Regions from separate parts of the Homo sapiens genome. Here all the other regions are linked to region 1. Evidence: promoter capture Hi-C in human tissues and cell types (Jung and others, 2019). All regions are on one chromosome and are shown on one strand. The core of a region is centred on a gene start or on the middle of the fragment in contact, and the rest is flanking DNA. Distances in the headings are between cores, read along the strand shown.

The links. The method cuts DNA at HindIII sites, captures the fragments that hold promoters and counts their contacts. A contact is called where the count stands out against the background at its distance.
Region 2: a contact is called between a fragment that was not itself captured here and the fragment with the promoter of PLOD3 in region 1, in 1 of the 25 tissues and cell types used here (dorsolateral prefrontal cortex).
Region 3: a fragment that was not itself captured here is called in contact with the fragment with the promoter of PLOD3 in region 1 in 1 of the 25 tissues and cell types used here (dorsolateral prefrontal cortex).

Annotation. Positions count from the first base shown.
Region 1 is chr7:101,215,695-101,219,508 of GRCh38, forward strand. It overlaps PLOD3 (procollagen-lysine,2-oxoglutarate 5-dioxygenase 3), which reads right to left and starts at 1,887. Exons shown (of 19, transcript NM_001084.5): 1 at 1,472-1,887; 2 at 1,001-1,092; 3 at 716-852; 4 at 469-632; 5 at 214-326. The coding sequence starts at 1,580. ZNHIT1 (zinc finger HIT-type containing 1) reads left to right here and starts at 2,471. Exons shown (of 5, transcript NM_006349.3): 1 at 2,471-2,523. The coding sequence starts at 2,502. RefSeq lists enhancers at 993-1,515, 2,064-2,183, 2,277-2,818 and silencers at 1,314-1,433, 1,494-1,543, 1,684-1,963. The HindIII fragment of the contact is 7,144 bases long and covers 1-2,758 here.
Region 2 is chr7:102,390,293-102,394,106 of GRCh38, forward strand. All of the region lies in intron 4 of LOC100630923 (LOC100289561-PRKRIP1 readthrough), which reads left to right. Among named protein-coding and RNA genes, the nearest start is that of PRKRIP1, 4.2 kb to the right of the region's middle. The HindIII fragment of the contact is 6,252 bases long and covers 1-3,814 here.
Region 3 is chr7:102,373,303-102,377,116 of GRCh38, forward strand. LOC100630923 (LOC100289561-PRKRIP1 readthrough) reads left to right here. Exons shown (of 9, transcript NR_038967.1): 3 at 2,521-2,647; 4 at 2,910-3,020. It also overlaps the pseudogene LOC100289561. Among named protein-coding and RNA genes, the nearest start is that of SPDYE6, 19 kb to the left of the region's middle. The HindIII fragment of the contact is 5,084 bases long and covers 1-3,792 here.

The sequences.
Region 1 (3,814 bases), core at 637-3,136:
CTCAACTATGTTGTCCAGGCTGGTCTTAAATTCCTGGACTCAAGCAATCCTCCTGCCTAAGCCTCCCAAAAGTCTTGGATGACAGGCGTGAGCCACCACGCCCAGGCACACATTTTTCTCTTTGCAACCCCCTTTGCTCCCCAAATCCCATTCAGCCTGAGGCCTCCACTCCCACAGAGCTGCGGGATGCGCCCACTCCTCTGCCTTCCCTACCCTCAGTCCTGGGTCCAGGTAGAGCCGTGTGTAGAACAGCTGGTCGTCGTCATCATCCTTGTACTTCCACTGGCGCACGATTTGGTGGATGGTGGTGGCAAAACCGATGAATCCTGGCGGGGAGGGGGAGTGTTGACCTCGAGACTCCCAGGGTCCCAGGGCCTGTCCCCCAGGCTGTCTCCAGCCCTCAGGCGCCTTTAACACTCTGTGTCCCACCGCTCTTGGCCCCTCTGCCTTGGGCACTCTGCCACTCACCACCAGAATTGAGGAAGCGCTTCCCCGTGCCCACCTCAGGGTACTGCTCCGCCAGCCCCCACTCGGGCCAGCAGAAGCTCTCTGCAGAGAAGAGCAGGCGGCTGCCACTCTGGACGAACTTCTTCAGCAGCTCTGTGGGGCTGCCGGCCAGAATCACGTCGTAGCTGGGTGAGGAAGGGGAGGATGGGCAGGGGTCCACTGGGAACCTCAGCATCCTTACCCCGCTCCCTATCCCCAGCCCCGTTACCTATCCACAAACATGATGATCATATCCTCCCGGTCAGCGTATTTCTCCATTTCCTTCTTTAACCACCGGACCTTCTGTCCTCCACCAACTGTTCGAGCCACATCACCCCCTCGCCACTCCTCTCCCAGGCCCAGGGTCTGTGGAGAAGATTGCCCCGTGCCAGGCAAGGGGTGGGGAGTTGTGGGGGGAACTCCTGACCAGGCTTACCGTGGGGACCTGGGCATCCAGACTTCAGCCCACCCCTCCTGCTGGGACCCCCTCCCAGGGGCCTTTCCCTCTCCTCACCCGCACAGTGTAGTTGAAGAACTCCGCAGAGCGCAGGAAACGCAGGTACCCCTCGGTTTCAGCTGTGGCCACAGTGATCACCAGCAGCTTCTCTGTTACCAGAGGGAAATGGCACTTGAGATCCACCGCCCAGCTCCGGGCCTCACGTGCTTTGCTGTCCTCCCTCTCACTCGACTTCCCTCCCTTTCTTCCTTCCCATTCTTAAACTCTTCTCACCCAGGAACACTCTGACCCCAAGGAGGGCAGGGTGGGAGTGGTGCCCAGGAATTCCGAGTCCCTTTGCATAGGGAGGCTGGAAACCCCAGTTCAGGGTAGTGATGGGCGAGGGGCTTGGCGCGACTCAGCCTCAAGAGCACGCTGGGCGGGGGACGGGCCAGACACCTCCTCGAGCCTCCGACCCTCTCCGGGCCAGGCTGGCAGGCACGCCAGCCTCTGCCCCCTCGGCCGTGCCGGGCCTCCCCGGGATCTCACCTGGGTTGACCGGGTCTCGGCCCCGGGGCCGGTCGGAGGCTGAGGCCGCAGGGGGCAGCAGCAGCGGCAGCAGCAGCAGGAACCGGGGTCCAGGCCCCGAGGAGGTCATGGTGGGGAGCGGGCCCAGACAGCACCCAGGATCCTGGGATCTCCGCTACGCGCCTGGATCCCAGCTCCGGAGGGGAGCTCTGGAAAGGGGGCGCTCGGGCTGCTGTGCGGCCGCCGCGGGGAGCAGCTTGGCTGGGGCTACGCCCTGAAAAAAAGGCGTATCCGGAGGCTACAGAAAGCTCCAGATGCCGGCGCCACAGACAAGGCGAGGATTGTCCCGGGCGCACGGGAGGCGGGGGAGGGGCGGCGGCTCGGGCCGGCGGGCGGGAGACAGGGACTCTGGGCTGAGCCAGCCGCTTGACACATGTGGAAGCTGAAACCTGGACAGGGGAAGTGACCCCTGGCGGAGGGTCGGGCGGGACGCGGGGGCGGGTCCTGGCCGCAGCCCTGCCCAGAGAGTGCGGGCGGAAGACGGGGAGAGCGAGAGGCTGGCGGCGACAGGGAGGGAGGAAGCCTAGGAGTCCGCCGCGGGACGGAGGCCTGGGGGAACTGGGAGTTCAGCTTTCTGCAGAGGGCCACTAGGAACCTCGGATTGCCCACGGAAGCCAGCCACTTTCTTTGACAGTCCAGCCCACCTCCTCTTCTGCCCGGAGAAGCTCCAGGGGCTGCCTTTGTGATCACAGCATCTTCACAAGGACCAAAGGAAAATAAGATTTCTTGTAAGAACACCGTGACCACATCTTTAAAATGACCCATTTCGTGGCTCCCACAAGATTTACACCTCCACACTGAGGCCGGAAGTGGTTTTGCCCCTATAAAACATGGCGAAAAGCTTTCTTGTCTCCAAGGAAACGCCACGTAATGAGTCAAAGCTGTGGCGCACGCGCAGAAGTACAAGCTACCGGAAGTGATGGCGCCCCTACTAAAGCCTTGGGGTTAGTACGCGTGCGCAGCAGTTTCTTCCGACAGTTGTGTTGTGCCAATGGTGGAGAAGAAAACTTCGGGTATGTGAGCCCCCGCGGTTCGCCCCCTTCCCCTTCCCAAGTCAGTCCTAGAATTTTCTTACCTAGTCATTCCTCTTTTTTGGTCTCGCTCTTTCGCCTAGGCTGGAGTGCAGTGGCATAGTCATAGCTCACTGCAGCCTCGATTTCCTGGGATCAAACCATCCTCCCACCTCAGCCTCCGGAGTGGCTGGAACTGCAAGCATGAGGCCCCACGCCTGGTTAATTTTTAATTTGTTATGTGGTGACGGGCTCTCGCTATGTTGCCCAGGTTGGTCTCCAACTCTTGGCCTCAAAGCGATCCTCCTGCGTGGGCCTTCCAAAGTGCTGGGATTACAGGCGTGAGCTGCCGCGCCCGGCCCCAGCTATTCCTCGTAAATCCCTTCCTCAGCCCTCGGGTCCTGGCGTTGACCCTTCATTCACGTTTTATTGGTGCCTGCTCCAAGCCGGGCGCTGGGGATGAAGAGGAGAAAGACCCCTCTTATCCAAGCATTGGCTTTTTCTGGAAGGGGGGCAGAAACGCAGACCTAACACTGTATTTTACTGTGATTTGTGATTTGTGCTATGGCAGAGGGAAGCACAGCGCCTGGGAACAGGGAGACGTGGCATCTAGCCCAGGTTCTGGGAGGCAGGGGACTGTGAAAGCTTGAAGGAAAAATGAAAAAGCTTGAATTGAGTCTTGAAAGTCTAGTTAGGGTTTCTCTCAGTGGGAACCTCACGTGCAAAGGCAGTGAAGCAAGAAAAAGCAAGTCGCTTAGGAAGCCAAGTTCACAGTTTGGATCTTACAGAGTAATAAGAAAGGATCGAAGGCTGGGGAAAGGTTACATTTTGAAAGGCATTATACACACTGCCCAGGAGTTTGAACTCTGTAGGGAAACACTGGAGAGCCAGCAAAGACTTTTTTTTTTTAGACAGAGTCTTGCTCTGTCACCCAGGCTGGAATGCAGTGGTTCTATATAACTCACTGCAGCCTCAACCTCCCATGCTCAAGTGATTCTTCCACCTCAGCCACCTGAGTAGGTGGAACTACAGGTGGGTGCAGGCCACCATGCTGGGCTAGTTTTTATATTTTTTGTTGAGATGGGTGTCTCACTATGTTGCCCAGGCTGGTCTTGAACTCCTGAGCTCATGTGATCCTCCTGCCTCGGCCTTCCAAAATGCTAGGATTACAAGTATGAGCCACTGCGCTTGGCCCTTTTAGTTTTTCTTTCTTTCTTTTTTTTTCTTTTTGAGACGGAGTCTTGCTCTGTCCCCCAGGCTGGAGTGCAGTGGCGCAATCTCGGTTCACTGCAAG
Region 2 (3,814 bases), core at 631-3,130, 1.2 Mb after region 1:
CCTTCAGTCCTAGGATCAAACTAGGACAAGTGTGGTCACCTATTTTTTTTTTTTTTTTTCAGACAGAGTCTCTCTCTGTCTCCCAGGCTGGAGTGCAGAGGTGCGATTTTGGCTCAGTACAGCCTCCGCCTCCTGGGCTCAAGCAATTCTCCTGCCTCAGCCTCCCGAGTAGGTGGGATTACAGGCAGCTCCCCCCACCCCACACGCCCGGCTAATTTTTTTTGTATTTTTAGTAGAGACGGAGTTTCACCATGTTGGCCAGGCTGGTCTCGAACTCCTGACCTCAGATCATCCACCTGCCTCAGCCTCCCAAAGTGCTGGTATTACAGGCGTGAGCCATGTTATTGAATGTCAGGCTCTGCTGGACACTGCATGTCCAAACGTCATTTTACCCATGTGCCAGCGACAAGGTAGATTCGCTTGTACCAATTTTGCACATAAGGAAACAGCCTTAGAGAGGTTAGGTTGCTTGTGCAAGCCCAGGGTAGGTGGCACCCAGTCTGCCAGTCTGCAACGCACTGGTATCTTCCAGCCAGTAGACCTTGCTCCCTGGGTGCCCAGTTCTGGATCTCAGGAAAGGTGGATTAAGGCTCCTAGTGGCGGGACCTGGGTGGGGATTTGCTGCCCTCTGGTGGCAGAAGGGACATCACCCTGGGTGTGAGACTTGTGGGCATCTGTGAGGCGGCCTTTCATCCCAGGGAGCCGGACCTCAAATCTGACCTCAGCCCCAGGAAGGTGCCACCAGGAAGGTGCCACCTAGGAGGGTGCCACCAGGGTTCCCGCCAGGGTCTGCTGGGGCCCTGTCCCATCTGTGTGAGTCACATAATCACTCAGGCTGTCACAGACCCAGGGCTAGACTGCTGGGTTTGAGTCTGTGTGGCCCTGAGCCAATTGCTTTCTCCTCTGGGCCTCAGTTCCATTTCAGTAGAATCAGGATGATAGCCTGGGCAACATAGCAAGACTCCAGCTCTACCAAATAAATAAATAAATAAATAAATAAATAAATAAATAAATAAAATATTAGGCTGGGCAAGGTGGCTCACGCCTGTAATCCCAGCACTTTGGGAAGCTGAGGCGGGTGGATCACCTGAGATCAGGAGTTCGGGGCCAGCCTGGCCAACATGACGAAACCCTGTCTCTACTAAAAATACAAAAATTAGCCGGGCATGGTGGCGGGTGCCTGTAATCCCAGCTACTCAGGAGGCTGAGGCAGGAGAATCGCTGGAACCTGGGAGGCAGAGGTTGCAGTGAGCCGAGATCGCGCCATTGCACTCCAGCCTGGGTGACAAGAGAGAAACTCCCTCTCAAAAAATAAAAATAAAAAGTTAGCTGAGTGTGGTGGCACCAGCCTGTTGTCATAGCTACTCAGGAGTCCAAGGCTGAAGAATTGCTTGAGGTCAGCCTGGGAAACATAGCAATACCCCATGTCTACAAAAAATGTGAAAAATTAGCTGGGCATAGTGGTACCTGCCTGTAGCCCTAGCTTTTCTGGACACTGAGTCAGGAGGATCCCTTGAGCCCAGGAGTTCGAGGCTGCAGTTAGCTATACTGGCACCACCGCACTCCAGCCTGGTGACAGAGTGAGACCCCGTCTATTGAAAAACATATATCTGCTGATAAATATGTCCACAATTTAGACCAGACTTAGACACTGAAGTTATTACCAGCTCCTTCACACCCACATGCCTTAACTCTCTCTTGCCTTCATGCATTCCTTCACTCCATTCATTCGCTTAACTTTCATCCAGCAGATATCTGCCAAGCACCAGCTCTGTGACAGACACTGAGGCTGGGGGTGCCAGGGAGACCTTTACCAACCGGACAGACACTGCCCCGCACTCCTGGCTCTGTGGCTTTCTGATAGTCCGTGGCCTCACATGTTCATTTATTAAGTGTCCTTTTATTGATTGAGTCTTCATTCTTTCTCTTAATGTCCTTATTCATTCATTCATCCATCACTTGCTCATCTCACTGACACGTCTATTCAGTCTTCATATATGTTTTCATTCCTTTATTCTCCAAGCATCCTGGAAGTACCCACTCTACACCATGCCAGGGTTAGATGCTGGGATTCTGGCCCAGCCCACCACACTGCCAAGCCCATGGGGACACAGATGGTGAGGACATAGTGGTAACTACTTCACCAGTTATTGGGATTCAGAGCTGGGAGAGCACCAAGAAGGGAGCAATTCACTTCCTGGAAGTGAGGGGTGGGAGAGGCAATCTGAGAAGGCTTCTTGGAGGAGGTAGCATTTTGGCCAAGTTGAGAAGCCTGTATGGGAGTTCTCCAAGGAGGAAAAGATGCTTTGTTTTGTAGACAAAAACCTTCGTTCTGTGGAGTGTTTGGAGAAAAGTGAGGTACTGGTTGCTAATGTGTGTGATCCTGGGTGAGTTTGTGTGCATGGCCCCAGCCAGGCCAAGCCCTCCCCAGGTTCCAGTGACAGACCTGGGCCACTAAGGACCCTTAATTCCACCCTGAGCTCCTAGAAAACCACCCACTATTGGGCAGCCAGGAATGACCTTTGGAGAACAAACACTTCACCCTCCAGGTACCATCCACTTGTCCACCTGTTCATCCTCTTGGGGACTCAGTGGGAGGGCGACCCTGTCCCTAGGAGCCCATGTCCCTCCAGCAAATGTTTCTTTTATTTTTATTTTTATTTATTTATTTATTTTGAGACAGAGTCTTGCTCTGTCGCCCAGGCTGGAGTGCAAAGGCGTAATCTTAGCTCACTGCAACCTCTGCCTCCCAGGTTCAAGCAATTCTCCAGCCTCAGCCTCCCGAGTAGCTGGGATTACAGGTGTGCACCACCACGCCTGGCTATTTTTTGTATTTCTAGTAGAGACGGGGTTTCACCATGTTGGCCAGGCTGGTCTCAAACTCCTGACCTCAGGTGATCTGCCCACCTCGGCCTCCCAAAGTGCTGGGATTACAGGCATGAGCCACCACACCAGGTTTTTGTGGTCACGGAATGGTCTTGTGTGATGTTGGTGTCCTGGAAATTACTTTTGTTTGACAAGAGAACACCAAGACCCAGCTGTGAATGTCTGTCCAGCTCCCAGGGAAACAGAACAGGAACTGGACAGAGCTTCTCCTTCACATCCTTTCCCTTTTTCCTTCTTTTGTCCCACTGATCACAAAACCCACACCATTGCCTCGCTGACAATATAGCTGCTAACCCCGAGGCTTTAGTCATACAAAGAAAATAAAGAACGAAACTGTCTCAAAAAAAAAAAAAAAAAAAAAAGAATTCCAGAGACTGGCCTTAGGAGATCCAAATATCAAATGAAGCTTGCGGAGTGTCCCACCTCGGGAAGGAATGCTGAACAATTGATTGACACCCTTGTTGCCACCAGCCAGACTACCAGGTGACTCATTACTTAAGATAACCATCGCAACCAGATATGCGACCTGCATACCCTCAAAACCAGATATGCGACCTGCATACCCTCACGTGCTTTGCCCAGCCCAGCCTGCATACCCTACCCCTGATGTCAATTCCCATGCTTTGCCTAATAAAAAAAATTCCCAGCCAGGCGCAGTGGCTTATGCCTGTAATCCCAGCACTTTGGGAGGCCGAGGCGGGCGAACCATGAGGTCAGGAGATTGAGACCATCCTGGCCAACATGGTGAAACCCTGTCTCTACTAAAAGACAAAAAATTAGCCGGGCGTGGTGGCGTGCACCTGTAGTCCCAGCTACTCGGGAGGCTGAGGCAGGAGAATTGCTTGAACCTGGGAAACGGAGGTGCAGTGAGCTGAGTTCGCACCACTGCACTCCAGCCTGGCGACAGAGCAACACTCTGTCTCACAAA
Region 3 (3,814 bases), core at 1-2,500, 1.2 Mb after region 1:
CCTCAGCCTCCCAAAGTGTTGGGATTACAGGCGTGAGCCACCGTGCCCGAGCACTTTTTTTTTTTTTTTTTTGAGATGGAGTCTCACTCGTCGCCCAGGCTGGAGTGCACTGGCACAATCTCGGCTCACTGCAAACTCCGCCTCCTGGGTTCCCTTCATTCTCCTGCCTCAGCTTCCCGAGTAGCTGGGACTACAGGCACCCGCCGCCATGCCCGGCTAATTTTTTGTATTTTTAGTAGAGACGGGGTTTCACCGTGTTAGCCAGGATGGTCTCGATCTCCTGACCTCGTGATCCGCCCGCCTTGGCCTCCCAAAGTGCTGGGATTACAGGCGTGAGCCACCGCGCCTGGCCGCCCGAGCACTTTTACTTTTCCTTAGTTATATTCCTCTAATTGTTTTCTCTTCTCTAGTTGTAGATAATGAGCATTTTATTAATACCTTGTTCTTGATCTTAATGGGAAGGTATGTAGTTTTTCCCTGTTAAGTAAAATCCTGACTTTTGGACCAAGAAGACTGAGGCATAAGAGTTTATGTGTGTGCGTGTGTGTGTGCACGTGCATGTGCGTGTGTGTGTATATACACAAACTATATATGTGCTTGTGTGTAATTGAAATACATATGTCACATATATATCATACGTACTACTGCATATTAGGGTGTAATATTTATATTTGTATATATACATAATATTGATGTTAATGAAGCATCCATCAGTTTCTGTTTTCTTTAGTTTGTTTTTTTAAATCAGGTTTTTCTGTCAAGCTTTTTCAAGTATCTTCATGGATACAAGATTTTTCTTCTTTGCTGTGTTATAGTGGCCTATCATATTAATAGGTTTCCAAATATTAAACTAGTCTATATTATTGGAATAAGTCCTATTTGTCTGTTGTATATTATGTTTTTAATCTGGTACTGGATTTTGTTTGGTTATGTTTCATTTTGGGTATTTGTATTGATATAAGTGGTATTGTATTGGCATGTAATTTTATGTTATTTATTGGCTGATCCATCTTCTAACCCCTCCACCTCCTTGCCTTCTGGACTAACTTAACCTAGAAGGTTATTACTCTCTCTCGGTGATTTTATCAGCTCCTGTGGCCTGCCTGTGGATAAGCTTGGATGTTCTGCTTTAGTTTCTCAGCCCACCAGCCTAGCGGCTCTGCCTCTGCTATCTCTTGGGATCTACATTGTCCTAGCTATATCACTGGGTTTGAACCCCTTGTTGATATCTTCTTTATAAATAACAGGATAATGCAACATGCTTACTGGGCACTTCCTTTTTCTAAACTACAAGTTTGGGCAGGGTATGCTGGCCCAAGACTGTAATCCCAACACTTTGGGAGGCCAAGGCAGGTGGATTGCTGGAGCCCAGGAGTTTTGCATTTTTCTTTTTTTTTTCTTGAGACAAGGTCTCGCTCTGTTGCCTAGGATGGAGTGCAGTGTCGCATTTACAGCTCACTGCAGCCTTGACCTCCCAGGCTCAAGCCATCCTCCTGCCTTAGCCTCCCAGGTAGCTGGAACTACAGGCATGTGCCATGATGCCCAGCCAATTTTTAAAAAAAATTTTATTTTTAGTAGAGATGAGGTTCTTACTATGTTGCCCAACGTGGCCTCGAACTCCTGAGCTCAAATGATCCTCCCATCTCGGCCTCCCAAAGTGCTAGGACTATAGGCATGAGCCACCATGCCCAGCCCCAACCTCTTAAAAATTGAAGCTGCTTCATGTTTGCCATTGGTACTTTTTACACCTCATCATATTCTTCTTCCCCTTCATCCCATAGAATACACAATTCATCTTTAAGGACTTCAAGTTAACTGAGTCTGTGAAGCCTAACTGATGGCATAAAGTTAAAATAATTTGATCCTCTTTTGTTAAATCATTCTGCACCTTGTCTGCATTACTCTAATAACAGCTTTGGGCATTCATTCATTTAATGAATATTTATTGCTGTGAGATTGAGATGTTTGAGATAAAACTCAGCCATGCAGATAGCCAGAGGCCACTGGCTATGAGAATAAAAAAGACAAAAGAACAAGGAGCTGAAACTAGGTGAGAGCCCCAGAGCAGTGAGTTAGGAAGAAGAAGACCAGGAACTGAGTGGTGGGCACTCCAACATGAAGAGGTCCAGGAGAAGGGGAGGGCCTGGCAGCAAAGAAGTGACAAGGAGTAAAATGCTTGTGTTTGTTTACATGTTTATCTCCTTATTAGGTTGTCTGCTTTCTCAGAGCAGGCATGGTGTTTCACTCATCTCATGTCCCCAAAACTCAGTTCAGTTGCAAAATAGGAGCTCAGTTGTGTTTTGGGTTTTTATTTTTGTGGGGTAATATATATTTTATATATATATATCCCCAAAGGATATATGTTTCCTGTATGATTTCCAATATGATTTCCCTTCCATAATCTGTAACATAAAATAAGGTATACAATGTTCATGGTTAACTTTACGAGTGAGCTTTGTAAAATGATATCCCCCTATCCCTTTTCCATATCTCCCAATTCTGATCATGTTGCCATTACAGGGGCCAGTGTCATTCAAAGATGTGGCTGTGGATTTCACCCAGGAGGAGTGGCAGCAACTGGACCCTGATGAGAAGATAGCATACGGGGATGTGATGTTGGAGAACTACAGCCATCTAGTTTCTGTGGGTGAGGATAGCTTGCTTTCTGAATGCTCTCAGTTGAATGGGGTTTTATCCTTGAGTTTGAAGAAATAAGTGATGACACCATTTAATTCCTTGTGGGCACTAGCTGGAGCGTTTATATTATTCTTCATTGAAAGGTTCTAACTTTGATAAGGTAAAAAATGGAGCACTTCTGTTATGCAGCTTATGAGGTGGCAACATCTTGTACTTTGGAGATTCTGAAGCCAAGCAGCTTGCCCAAGTCCTTCTTCTTTTCCCATTAACAGGGTATGATTATCACCAAGCCAAACATCATCATGGAGTGGAGGTGAAGGAAGTGGAGCAGGGAGAGGAGCCGTGGATAATGGAAGGTGAATTTCCATGTCAACATAGTCCAGGTAAGTTAGTAGATTATCACATGTTAAAAAACACTCATCCCCGACCTTTGGGAGTGACTAAAGAGTTGTTTATATGTACTCGGTACCCTCAGTAACACCTCCCAACCCCCAAATATCACTTTCCTTCCCACACACATACCACATACATGAACTCTTTTGTTGATTTTACATTTGATTTACATTGGTAGGGATTTTTTCATTCTAACCTGTACTGGGGACCCAGTCACTTCCTCTTTCTCCAGCATTATCGCTCACTTATTTACTCCCTCGCCATTAGAGAATTGTTGTGAGTTTTTTGTTTGTTTGTTTGTTTGTTTGTTTTTTGGAGACAGAGTCTTGTTCTATCACCCAGGCTGGTGTGCACTGGTATGTTCTCGCTCACTGCAACCACTATCTCTCAGGTTCAAGCGATTCTCCTTCCTCAGCCTCCTGAGTAGCTGGGATTACAGGCACATGTCACCACGCCTGGCTAATTTTTGTATTTTTAATAGAGACTGGGTTTCACCATGTTGGCCATGCTGGTCTTGAACTTCTGGCCTCAAGTGATCTGCCCACCTCAGCCTTCCAAAGTGCTGAGATTACAGTCCTGAGCCACTGCTTTCGGCCTTACAGAATTGTTTTGTTTTGGGGCATTCAGAAGTCTGACATAAAAATTAACTTGAGACTTTTAGGTTCATTCTTTTAATCTTCCATTTTCTTTCCTTCCTTGCTTTAAAAATACCTTGGACTTATTTTCTGCCCTCGATTTTATTTACTTCTTTAGGCATTCAGATACCAAAACCTCGTCCTCTACC